4 separate regions of the Homo sapiens genome follow, and regions 2, 3 and 4 are each linked to region 1. Evidence: promoter capture Hi-C in 16 types of primary human blood cells and fetal thymus (Javierre and others, 2016). All regions are on one chromosome and are shown on one strand. The core of a region is centred on a gene start or on the middle of the fragment in contact, and the rest is flanking DNA. Distances in the headings are between cores, read along the strand shown. Region 1 holds the start of CTSC (cathepsin C). Region 2 overlaps GRM5 (glutamate metabotropic receptor 5). Region 3 has its middle 220 kb from the start of RAB38. Region 4 has its middle 160 kb from the start of RAB38.

Region 1 (3,109 bases), core at 290-2,789:
CAATCAGTAACACACCTTCCTAGAGATTCAGGAAGGGAAGCTTAATCTGTCAGGGTATCTTTAAATAAATAGTGTGTTAGCTTAATTATACAATGTCAGCTTTCAATTCTAAGAAGGTATATAAAACCTAAAAGCAAGGTGTTCCCCAACCCCCCGCCACCAACCCCGCCCCAGGCTTTGGAAATTTGTGCCCCCATTGAAGAGTATTTTCACCTCTGAACTTTCAAGGACAACTCCTTTTGCCTCATTGAAACTGGCTTTCAAGCTTGGCAACCAAGATAAGAATATTAAGTACACTTATTTTAACACTCAAGGACACTTTCTGAATAAACCAGAATCTAGGGAGATATAAGTGAATAATTTGGACCTGCTCTCTTTGAATGTTTATAATCTGGTGGAAAAAAAATGGACATATGAATATTGATTTGTGACCAGTGCAAAGGGGGCAAAAATTCATATCCCAAAGAAAACGGGGACACATCAGGTCTGTCTTGTTCATCACTGTGTCCACAGGGCCTGACACCTAGTAGGCTCAGTGGGAGAAAGGAGCCCCAATTACCAACAAAAGCCAGGAAAGAACGGGAGGCTCTTACGGAAAAGGGTGATACTTAAACTGAGCAAGGAGGCACCTGGAAATAGTGCCACCTAATAATTTTTGGCGATCAGACTGACACACTAGAACGGTTCATAAGACCAGCCTTCTCCCATTGGCTAGCTTCCTTCCTCACCCTTCTCACCCTGGGCAAGCCGCTTCCTCTCTCTGGGCCTCTTGCTTTTCCTCTGTAACATAAAAGGGGTTGAGCAATATCATCTCTGAGAGCGCCATGTGTGTGCGTGCCAGAGGGAAAACCCCCACAACGCTAATACATCAAAACTGCAGGTTTGCACAAAAACTGAATTCTGCTGAATGCAAACAGGCAAACAGCATTTACCAGGAAACAAAACAAAATCAAGCACATAAAAAAGTAGGAAGAGTTGGAAAACGGAAGGAAGATAAGTTCTCAAACAGCTGGAATAGTTGATGTTAGCTAGCGAAGTTTTTCAGAGGAAAAAACAAGAAGTTGGTTATGAGGCAAGTGGACCTGAGAAAAAAGACTAAAGGGGAAGAATAGCAAGTAAAACAGAACTCCACTTGCTAGATCTCTCCCTCTGTCGCGCTCTTTCACCTGACCCACTCCCTTATTCCCCCCACACCCTTTCCTTCTCTCCCTACGTTACCGCACAGGAACGAAGTCTGGGTCATGTGCGGACCGCTTGTGGCTCTTAAATCCTCTTTTTGTCACCCTGGCCGTGCAAAATTTTGAAACGTCCCTCGGCAAAAAAAATAAAAATAAAAAAAAAAAATCTGTCCCTGGCCTCTTCCCTAGTTCTGGGTCCAGTTGCAGCCAAGTGAGGGGCAGCGCGCGCTCCCAAGTCCCCGTTTCAGAGACGCGCACGCGCCTGGCGCCCAACCCCCAATCCCCTGCTGCTCAGTGACCCCGCCCACGGGTTTCCGGGCCGGCGTAGCTATTTCAAGGCGCGCGCCTCGTGGTGGACTCACCGCTAGCCCGCAGCGCTCGGCTTCCTGGTAATTCTTCACCTCTTTTCTCAGCTCCCTGCAGCATGGGTGCTGGGCCCTCCTTGCTGCTCGCCGCCCTCCTGCTGCTTCTCTCCGGCGACGGCGCCGTGCGCTGCGACACACCTGCCAACTGCACCTATCTTGACCTGCTGGGCACCTGGGTCTTCCAGGTGGGCTCCAGCGGTTCCCAGCGCGATGTCAACTGCTCGGTTATGGGTAAGCCGCCGGCTCGGCAGTCCTCCGGGTCGTCCTTTCTGCCCTTGAGCCCCTAACGCAGCGCCACGCCAACTACCGCTTCCCCCCAGGCAGACGCTTGTGGGTGGCCAGAGCATCTTGACTGGATTCGGGGACCCTTGGGGACCTTCTTCCCCGCCAGGCTCGCGAAGTTAAAGTTCATCTGCTGAGAACTTCTAACTCCACACTTTCTTGGTTATCTTGGGGACTCAACACTTTGATCAAGAACTTTTTTATTCCTCCCGCTTAATTTTGTTTGCTTTGAGAGAGACTTGGGAACTGCAATCGTTTGGTTCTCCAGTCCGATCTGGTAGCGTTATTTTTAAAATTTATTTTTATTTTTTATTACTATTTTACTAGTGAAGATAGATGAGCTCAGAGACTCTCGAGGATATAGCATGAAGTTTTCTCTTTTTGTTAGATGGTGGGAAAGGGACTTTCTGCCCAGCGATTTTGGTTTGAGCGGGTGTTGATGAGTACTAGAAAACGGCTAGTACCACTCTGCATTGTTTCATGCATTGCAAGGAGGTAAAAATTTTTTAAAAAATTAATAACAAAGAAAACTTAACTCTGAACCTAGTAATTAGAAATGCCCAGAGTCTGCACAATGTTTGGCTCATGGAAGGCTCTCAATAAATACCTAGTGTTTGAACATACTGGAGATATTCCATATGCCTTCAGATAACATGGTTACCCCTAGAACAAAGAACCTAGTGAAGGGGGTGGGGTGGAAAAAAGACAATCACTAGTTAGAAGAGTCACACTGTGGTCTACCCAAACCCTCTTACAGCCTGTGACTTCTGCAGAGTCAGTAAAAAATCAGCTATAATTTTCTTGTCAACAGAACAAAGATTAAGTCATTTGTTACTAAAGAAATACCTTTTTAACTGACTGTATAGCATTTCATAATCCTGAACATTGTAACTTTTTTTTTTTTTTTTTTGAGAATGGAGTCTTGCTCTGTCACCCAGGCTGTAGTTCAGTGGCGGGATCTCGGCTCACTGCAACCTCCGCCTCCCGGGTTTAAGCGATTCTCCTGCCTCAGTCTCCCGAGTAGCTAGGATTACGGGCACATGCCACCACGCCCGGCTAATATTTTGTATTTTTAGTAGAGACGGGTTTCACTGTGTTAGCCAGGATGGTCTCCATCTCCTGACCTCGTGATCCGCCCGCCTCGGCCTCCCAAAGTACTGGGATTACAGGCGGGAGTCACCACGCCTGGCCTTTTTTTTTTTTTTTTTTTTAAATTTGAGTTTGAAGGTTGGGGCAGAAAGAGATCAGGATTTGCACTGCCCTGTCACATGCAATCTCCCATGT
Region 2 (3,109 bases), core at 334-2,833, 500 kb before region 1:
TGCACCTTCCCACTGCTGTATCTTCACCTATTCTATCTCAAAATGATTACAATTCTCTGAACATATCTAGCTTACAGTGTAACCTACACTGTTTTGTCCCTGGAATTACTTCCCTGTCTTTTACCTATATACTCAGGTTTATGTATCAGGTTTATCACGTAAGACATTTCCAGGCAGTTTGGAAGATATCCTGAACTCCAGTAAGACTTCCACAGACCCCTTAAATATCCCTGGAACTTTTCATTTTTATTTTTCTGTTTTCTTCTTTTCCCTCTTACACTAGAATATAAGCTCCTTGAAAGTGTGGGTAAAGGTTTATAAATCTTCATACCTTTCATACCTAACACATTGTAGATATTTTAGAGTGGCTGAAACTGCAGGGGGGGAAAAATGGCAGTAATAGAGAGGCAGAAAAACGGTTCTCTTCAACTCAGTCAGCCTAAGTAAAAGGCAGGATTCTCACACCCTAAAATCGAAAAAGTAGACTAAATATATGTTTCTCTGCAAGTAAGCCAGCTAAAAGTCTCCTGGTGGAGAACAGAGGTGACTCCCTAGGACACCCTCCCCATGAGTTTATGACAGGTCTATTTCATAGCTTTTCTTACTGAATGGTGAATTTCTGGCCTTTGCAAATCACGTCTGAAGAAATGAGCACTTTCTATGAGGCTTAAACATGCATTCAACTAATCAATCACTTGGATTAGGAAAAGTCAAATTATTAGTAAAGTGGTGAGACAAGGAAGACCAGATACATTCTTGGACACGTGCTGTTTTAAAGGAAGCCTTCGTAGGTTTTATTTCCTTTCAAAGGCAGGGAAAATAGATGTAGTTTCTTCAGTACTCTGACTTCATATTATTAGACTTGCCAGGTGATAAAGTGAATATTGATTAGATATCATTCAGTCATTAGTTCAGAATATTTTAAAGCTTTATTGTTTTCTAATAGCTTAGCAAGTCATGAATACAAGTCTTTATGCTTCAAGATGATTTATAGAGATTCTCTCAATTTACCTTTTTGTACATGCCAAAATCTGTTTTCTTACTTAATTTTACTTTAAAAAAATATTTGGCAATTTTTTTACAAAAAGTAATTTTTTAAATTGCTTTTGTCATGGATACATATTTGTACATATGTATGGGGTACACATGATTTTTTTTTACAGTCAGAATGAGTAATGATCATGTTAGGGTTAGGGTATTTACAGTATCCATCACCTCACGTATTTATCATTTCTATGTGTTGGGAACATATCAAGTTCTCTCTTATAGATATTTTAGAACAAACAATATATTTTTGTTAATGATAGTCTACTCAGCTAACAAACATTAGAATGTTTTTCTTCTATCTAATTGTACAATTGTTTTTACCCATTAACCAACCTCTCTTATTTACGCCCTACCCATGTACACACCCTTCTCAGCCTCTGGTATCCACTTCCATGCGAAAACCTTTTTTTTGGTCCCACATATGTGAGTGAGAACATGTAATATTTGTCTTTCTGTGCCTGGCTTATTTAACTTAACATAATGAACACCAGTTTCATCCATGTTGCTAAAAATGACATGATTTCATTATTTGTTATGCGCTAATAGTATTTCATTGTGTTTACATATACCACATTTCTTAACAATTAATCCATTGATGGATACTTAGATTTATTTCATATCTTGCTTTTGTGAATAGTGCTGTAATAAACATGGAGGTGCAAATGTCTCTTTGACCTACTGATTTCCTTTTCTTCAGATACATACCTAGTATTAGAATTGCTGATCATACGATAGTTTTATTTTTTCTTTTTTGAGAAACCTTTATACTGTTTTCCATAGTGTCTGTATAATTTTACCAATATTGTCTTTCCCTTTTCTTTGCATTCTGGCCAGCATCTTTTATTTTTTGTCTTTTTAATAATAGCCATTCTAACTGGGGTGATGATACCTCACTGTGGTTTTGACTTACATTTCCCTGGTGCTTATTGATGTGGAGCATTCCTTCATGTACCTGTCGGCCATTTATACGTCTTTGAGAAATGTCTGTTCATGTCTTTTGCCCAATTTTTCATGCAATTATTTGTATTTTGGGGGGGCAGCGGGAGTTAGTTTTTTTTTTAAGCTGTTAAGTTCCTTGTATATACTAAATATTACTCTCTTGTCAGATGAAACATTGTGCAAATATTTTCTTCCATTCAACAGGTTATCTCTTCACTCTGTTGATTATGTTCTTCACTGTACAGAAGCTTTTTGGTTTAAAACAATCCCATTTGTTTATTTTTGTTTTTGTTGTCTGTGTTTTTTAGGTCTTAGCTATAAAATCTTTGCCTAGCCCAATGTCCTCAAGTGTTTCCTCTATGTTTTCTTTTAGTAGTTTTATAGTTTGGGGTCTTACTTTGAGTCTTTAATCCATTTAAGATGTTTTTATATATCATGAGAGTTAGGGGTCCTGTTTCTGTCTTCTGCATATGGATATCAAATACTCCCAGCACTATTTATTGAAAAGGATGTTCTTTCCTCATTGAATATTCTTGACAACTTTTCCAAAAATCATTTGGATAAAAAACGCATGGATTTATTTCTGGGTTCTCTATTCTGTTCTGTTGGTCTATGTACCATTTTTCCTATCATACCATATTGTTTTGGTCACTATATTCTTGTAATATATTTTAAAGTCAGGTAGTGTGATGTCTCCAGCTTTGTTGTTATTACTTAGGATTGCTTTGGTTTTTCAAGCTCTTTTTTGATTCCATATAAATTTTAAGATTTTTTTTTCTTTTTCTGTGAAGAATATTATTGGTATTTTTAAAGGAATTACATGGAATCTGTAGATTGCTTTGAGCAGTATGGTCATTGTAACAATGTTAATTCTTTCAATCTATGAATACGGGATGTCTTCATATTCAATTAAGTTCTCTTAAATTTCTTTCATCAGAATTTTGTAGTTTTCTTTGTAAAGGTCTTTTGCTTCCTTGGCTAAGTATACTTATAGATTTTTTTAATAGCCATTGTAATTGGGATTGCCTTCTTTATTTTCTCCTCAGCCAGTTCATTATTGGTGTATAGAAATACTACTGGTATTTTAGTTTTAATTTTGCATCCTGCAACTTTACTAAATTTA
Region 3 (3,109 bases), core at 423-2,922, 380 kb after region 1:
AGAACAACACTAGCAGTGGAAAGAATAAGATAGGTATGAAGAAAGGAGGTTGGAGACTTTCTTAGCTTGGATCTCCTTAAGAGCAGAGCCCAAGACAGAGGCTTGCATGCAGGGGTAGATGCTTCTTAACTTGGGTTACCTCTAGATAAACCCATCATATGTTGAAAATATGTAGCTAAGAAATGCATCTTATACACCTAACCTACAGAACATTGTAGCTTAGCCGAGCCTACTTATATGTGCTCACAGCATTTACATTGGCCTACAGCCGGGCAAAATCATCTAACAACATAGAACCCCATAGAGTGCTGGTTGTTTGCCCTTGTAATTGCTTGGCTGACTGGGGGCAGTGGCTGCCAGTGACAAAGAGTAGAGTACAGTATATTGCTAGCCTGGGAAGAGATCAAAATTCAAAATTTGAAGTACAGTTTTTACAGAATGCATATGGCTTTCAAACCATCATAAAGTCAAAAATCGTAAGTCGAATCATTGTAAGTCTGGGACCAGCTGTGCTTTATTTGGAAAGTGATATTTGGAAAGTGATTCTAGGGAAGAGAAATGAGCATATCAGGGATCAGAACACGATATCCCAAAATATGGTGTCATGGCATGCTGAGTATTTCGTTAGGAAGGAGATTGGTAGGCCTTAGAAGAAAGGTCACTCTGACCTTCTCATGCTCTCCCTTCTTCCTTTCCCCACGCTCCCCCAAGATGTGTCAAGAATTTTTCTCCCCACCTCAGATTATAGAAGTTAGAACTCCTCTCCCTCAAAGTGAACCATAAAACCTAGAAACGTCACTCTCTGGCCTACCTTCCCTGAAAGCAGGTCATGAGGGTCTTGTTCTAGAGTTCCTGCCCCATATGCTGAGAGAGGAATGCCACATAGAGAGCCCAAGAATAATCTGAACAAGTAGGCCTTGCTTGGTCTCCTCGCAGTTGATTACTATTAGATTCTACTTTCTTTGTCCAATCATGCTTCTTCACAACTTTTCACTTTTTTCATCAGACTTAGAATAAAAGCACACAGTTTTCCCTGGGTATGGGGGTCACATAAAACCCTGGTTAAATAAACTTATGGGTTTTTTTTTCTGTTAATCTGTCTTTTGTTACAGGACTGTCATCCGTGACCCTTATGACGGATGAGAAAAAGTTATTACCTTATTGCCCCTATGGGGGGTGAGGGGAGAGAAGCAGGAAGTAGAGAAAGGCAATCCAAATATGTATGATCCCATTGTCTACTGTGACAGGCAAAGAAGCTTGATTCAGAGAGAACTTTTAAGGAAACTTGTGACATGAATCTTGGAACTGACCACCTAAGGGACAAAGGGGGAATCAATTTGTGGGAGTGAAAAAGTAAATATTTTTCCTCACCCACTGTAAGTTATTACTTACAGTGCTATAACAATAGACAGATTCATAAGAGAAAAGCACAGCCAATTGATTTAACAATGTTTTATGTGACATGAGAGCGTTCGGAAATGAGGACTCAAGGACCCCCCCCCAAAAAACTGCATTTTTATACTTAGGTTCAATGAGGAATGGACAGTCCTGTAGAAATGTCAGTGTACAAAAAACAGGGTGAAACTTCATGATAATAAACTGAAGGTGGGGGGAGGGAACCCAGAAAGGCCCTGAAAGGTTCAAATTCTTCTTGGCTTCTCTGTGTATCATTCCTTCTCTCCAGGTTTGGTGCAGTACTCCTCTGGAATGCGGGTCTTATGACTTACTTTCAGTTAAGGTAGATTAAAAAAAATGTTTTATAACTATGCTTTATACAGAAAAGTGGGGGTGGTCAGAGTGACCTTCTAGCTCCTGTAGCTTTTTCAATTGCTGAGTGCCATGTTTTCACATATCATGTTCTGAGCTCCCACAAATTATTAATTAGTTCCCAGACCCCAGTGGACAAGGTTGGACACGTAGGGGTTAATTATCCTGCCGTTTGGTTTCTACAGACATCTCCTACTATGGCATCTGAGAGACCATGGGGCAGGAGTGGGAGGCCATGGTGCAGGTGATAGAAGCCTGTGCTAAGCAAATCTCTGCAGCAGAGAATAGTGAAGAGGCGAGGACCCAAGAATTTAAGCTTGCATGTGAGTGGTCTCCAATGCAGATGACTAAAGGATATTTTTGTTCTTCTCACAACTTTTTGATTCTAGTGTTATGCTCTGTGTAATTTTATAATAAGAACAATAGCTACAATTTATTTGCTATTTGCTGGATGTAGTTTGAGGGACTTGTGCAACATGTTCTCATTTTATTCTTCATAATAGTCCTTTATCATGACTTTGTATCGTTGATATTTACTTACAAGTAAATATTTTCAGATAAGTTAAATAATTTACTTACTTACAGTTACAAGGTATATGCATGTATGTATGTATGTTTGTTTTTAAAAATTATTTTATTAGCTCAGAAAATATATGAACCATACTGTAGAACGGAGACTTTTAAACATTTTTGGTTTAGCACTTAGTTTTTTATGTCTGCTAATGTACTGAAGCAAGAGTTTTATAAAATTGCATTTTCTCTTTTGACATGTCTTGTTAAGAGAAAATACAATATTTTCTATTCTGTCCTACTTGTGTGTGTGTGTGTGTGTGTGTGTGTGTGTGCATACTGTTTGCTACCCATTATATTGATTTTATCACTCACTAATGAGTTATGAGGCATGACCCCACAGTGTGAAAACGGTGACCTAGAAAACCAATATTTTATAGAAAATATTCACTTTCGGATGACAGGGGTCATCTGAAGCCTCATGAATGCCTAGCTCAATGGATGATTGACAGATGATAGAAAGATTGATTGATAGATAGATGATTGATAGATATAAGAGCTAAATGTTGTGCTTATTTTATTCATTTAAGTTTGGCTTATAGTTAGCTACGGGCTTTATACAATAGCTTTAGGCTTCGTTAAACAAAAGAGTCTATAGGATAAGTCATATTGTCTACTGATACTTTAAATAATTTTAACTTTTATTTTAGATTCAGGAAGTACATGTGCAGGTTCGTTATGTGGGTATATTACACGATACTAGGTTTGGAATACGGATGATCATGTCACCCTAGTAGTGAGCATGGTACCTAACAGTTTTTCAATGCTTACC
Region 4 (3,109 bases), core at 247-2,746, 320 kb after region 1:
GAGAAATTAGCAATGACCACCACCATTAATATGACTTGTTACATCCAGATTGTGGCTGTTGTAACAATCATGGAGGATAGATCTGTCTTCTAATCTCAACTCTGCCACTTCTGAACTGTGTGACTTTGAGAAAGTCATTTTGCCAGTCAGAACTTCATTTTTCTGGTCTCTTAAATTAGGATAATAATACCTACCAAATAGCCTTGTTGTATTGTAAAACAAGTAACAGACCGGGGTCATTCTGTCCTTGAAATTTTAGGATATACAGATAAGGGACACTATGATGGGTTGAGACCAGGCATATCAGGCTTTGCATCCTAATTTGCTCCACTTAGCAACTGTGTGAATTTGCAGAAATTTTTTCAACTCCCTGACCCTGTTTCCTCATCCGTAACATGCAGTTGAAACTACCTACCATATGGAGTATAGAAATAAGACAGTATATATAAGTAACTGCATTAAGACCTGGCATACAGATTATAAATCCGTTTATTTCTCCTACTAAAGTTCCCATTATTCTTGACTATTTGATACTGGAGAGCAAGAGGGGAAGAGGAGATTGTCCCTAGTAGTGCACTTGTCTTCTATCTCCCACTTAATACCATAACAATAATAGCTACTGCTACGGTCACCACTTCTAATATGACTGCTTTTACCACTAGTGCTGCTGCTGCTGCTGCTATTCTGGTATTATTTATTGAGCAGGAACTATGTAGCAATATGTAAAGGGTACTGCGATGTGCTCTTTACTGTGCTATTGATTTTAATGTCAGTATGTCTGCTTTCAATCAATTATATTGCATGGCCTTGAAAAATAGCCATTTCATTCCAGTCCTGGGTTTTTGCAGGCCAGGGTTAATGCAAGAAGCTTTCATTAGTAAACCATAAACTCTAGAAGGTGTGAATAATAGGACTTGGCCTATGCATCTTTCTTTTTATCCATCTCGGTCCTAGCACCTGCTGATGAGTCCTTCTTTGAGTGATTTCACAGTTTGTCATCCTAAGTGTTCTGGGCTCTTAGTGTTTCACTGCAGCATTTTTCAGGCAAGCATAAATCTCCAAATCTTCAGATTTTGAATCAGCTAGAACAAAATCTCAGCATTGCTTTTTATGCTATTAGTCATTCTCAATTGGTTATTTTCCTTTTGTTCCAGTCATTCTAAATGGCAAAAAAAAACAAAAACAAAAAAGCAATCATGAAGTCACATCCTTGGATGTTATTAGTAGAAAATAAAACGGCATTCACTTCTATTCTGTTGAACATATACTTACTCTGAACAAAAGAAATTGATGAACTAAAACAAACAAAATATGTTCCTCAGCCCTGCTTTAGACAGATAAGCAAGACAATTAATATCAAGGCTGTTATTTCTTTGTTCCAATTTTCTATGCCTGTTCCTAATTTATATTCTCCAAGGTATCTGAGATTAGATAACTATTAAAGTTTCATTCTGTATTATTTTTGGTATTTAGTGAAAGTTTATTACCTACAGGCCTTTTGAGATAAATAAACTTTAATGTATTACTATCCCTACAGAATGTCAGACCTGGAAAGAACCATAAGGATGAGATTTTTCTGGGACAACCATCTCATTTTGCACATGAGAAAACAGGCCCAGAGCACCCTGAGATGTGTGTGCTTTGGGAGTTCAGAGTGGACCCTCTTTGTAACACAATACTTTCTGTACACGTAGTCCTTTGTTTGAAATTCTTTTTAAATTGTGTATGCTGAGTAAGAAGTTACATTTGAGCTTTTTTAAAAATCAATTTTTTCCACTAGTGTAGTAAAGGAACACTACTATTATCAGATTCGGCTTATTTGTTCAAGCACCCACTGGGACATTGAGGAAGGACAGGAAGTATAGTGGAGGAGTTTGACTAAATATAATTGAGGAATAATCCTCTTTCCCCAGTACAAAGGAGCTTTTCAGAGGCTTATTGCTGTCCTACCTGGTTGGTTGTAATTTGCTGAGCATGTAATTTCTGTGTTAAGAGCTGTTCACAAGACAAAGGGCACAGATGGCTTTTGGGAGCCTTGTTAATTGTTGATAATTCTTCTTCACTCTAGTCCCCACCCAGAAGCCAGAAAAATATGCTACCAGGTATGCTAGCTGTTCAAGCTTAAAACTATTTTTTAATAGAAACTTTATTAGGAAAAATAATCCAGTAAGTTCCATATACTCCTTCCGTGCTTGGTTCCCACCGTCTTCCTCCCCGTTACTTACCAACAATCCTGGTCCCAGTGTCTTCCCTTCCAGTGTGGTGTCTTTTCCTGCTGCTGGCCTTATGTCCTGACACAAATGCTGAAAGTTACTTCCTCCAGTGTCCTTCCAAGTATCTGAACAGTACAGTGACTCTGTCTTTACCTGCTTCAATTGAAGAGTGAGAAGCTTCTGGTGGCTGTGTGATCGTCAGCTTCATTAATCAGTAGGTCACAGTCTAAACATTTCTCCTCACCGGTGCCATGACTCTTGGTGACCAGATTGAAAATCTGATGAGGCCCAGAGAGCAAAAGTGACTCTACCAGTGACTGGACCCCACTCATGGCAGGCCAGGATTAAGGTGGGAATCTCCTGTCCCATCTCTCAGGTGAATGTCACACTGTTTGAGACAACTTAAGGAAGGGATATAGAGAGAGTGAGTGTGCCCCATGGTAGCTTTAATCTGGCAAAGCAGAACAACACGAATGGAGCAAAAGTCTCAAAGCAAAATCTCTCACTCAAAAGACAGTGTGCCTTACTAATTAAGAACAAAGGATTTGGAGTTATGGAGGCCTATACCTGAGTCCCAGATGTGCTGCTTACCTACTGTCTGACTTGGAAACATTGTTTAACCCCACTGAACCTTAATTTTCTACCCTGTGGATGAAATCTATGATACCTACACCATGAGGTTGTCTTGAAGAACTAGAGGACATAATTTATAAAAAAGACTTAGATGAATATCTAATATGTGCAGGCCAAGATGGTAACTATTACTATCAAGATGAGCCCTGCTGCATTCTCACCCTTATTTACTCTTTTTAATTTTCTGGAAATCTTGCTATTTCAGTCATCTTTCTGAGATGCTTATCAAGGATTGGCTCTTAAGAGCACATGGCTTTGTATCA

The links. The method cuts DNA at HindIII sites, captures the fragments that hold promoters and counts their contacts. A CHiCAGO score of 5 or more calls a contact.
Region 2: a contact is called between a fragment that was not itself captured here and the fragment with the promoter of CTSC in region 1, in 1 of 17 cell types (non-activated CD4 T cells). The highest score is 5.3, in non-activated CD4 T cells.
Region 3: a fragment that was not itself captured here is called in contact with the fragment with the promoter of CTSC in region 1 in 1 of 17 cell types (megakaryocytes); the score reaches 7.1 in megakaryocytes.
Region 4: a contact is called between a fragment that was not itself captured here and the fragment with the promoter of CTSC in region 1, in 5 of 17 cell types (total CD4 T cells, M2 macrophages, megakaryocytes and 2 more). The highest score is 5.3, in total CD4 T cells.

What each region holds. Positions count from the first base shown.
Region 1 is chr11:88,336,166-88,339,274 of GRCh38, reverse strand. CTSC (cathepsin C) reads left to right here and starts at 1,539. Exons shown (of 7, transcript NM_001814.6): 1 at 1,539-1,774. The coding sequence starts at 1,603. LOC101929174 (a long non-coding RNA gene) reads right to left here and starts at 1,391. Exons shown (of 5, transcript NR_188511.1): 1 at 1,219-1,391. RefSeq lists an enhancer at 1,544-1,823. The HindIII fragment of the contact is 10,462 bases long and covers 268-3,109 here.
Region 2 is chr11:88,832,260-88,835,368 of GRCh38, reverse strand. All of the region lies in intron 3 of GRM5 (glutamate metabotropic receptor 5), which reads left to right. Among named protein-coding and RNA genes, the nearest start is that of GRM5, 230 kb to the left of the region's middle. The HindIII fragment of the contact is 1,307 bases long and covers 930-2,236 here.
Region 3 is chr11:87,955,377-87,958,485 of GRCh38, reverse strand. It overlaps a transcript of RAB38 not described here. Among named protein-coding and RNA genes, the nearest start is that of RAB38, 220 kb to the left of the region's middle. The HindIII fragment of the contact is 827 bases long and covers 1,259-2,085 here.
Region 4 is chr11:88,011,513-88,014,621 of GRCh38, reverse strand. It overlaps a transcript of RAB38 not described here. Among named protein-coding and RNA genes, the nearest start is that of RAB38, 160 kb to the left of the region's middle. The HindIII fragment of the contact is 1,252 bases long and covers 871-2,122 here.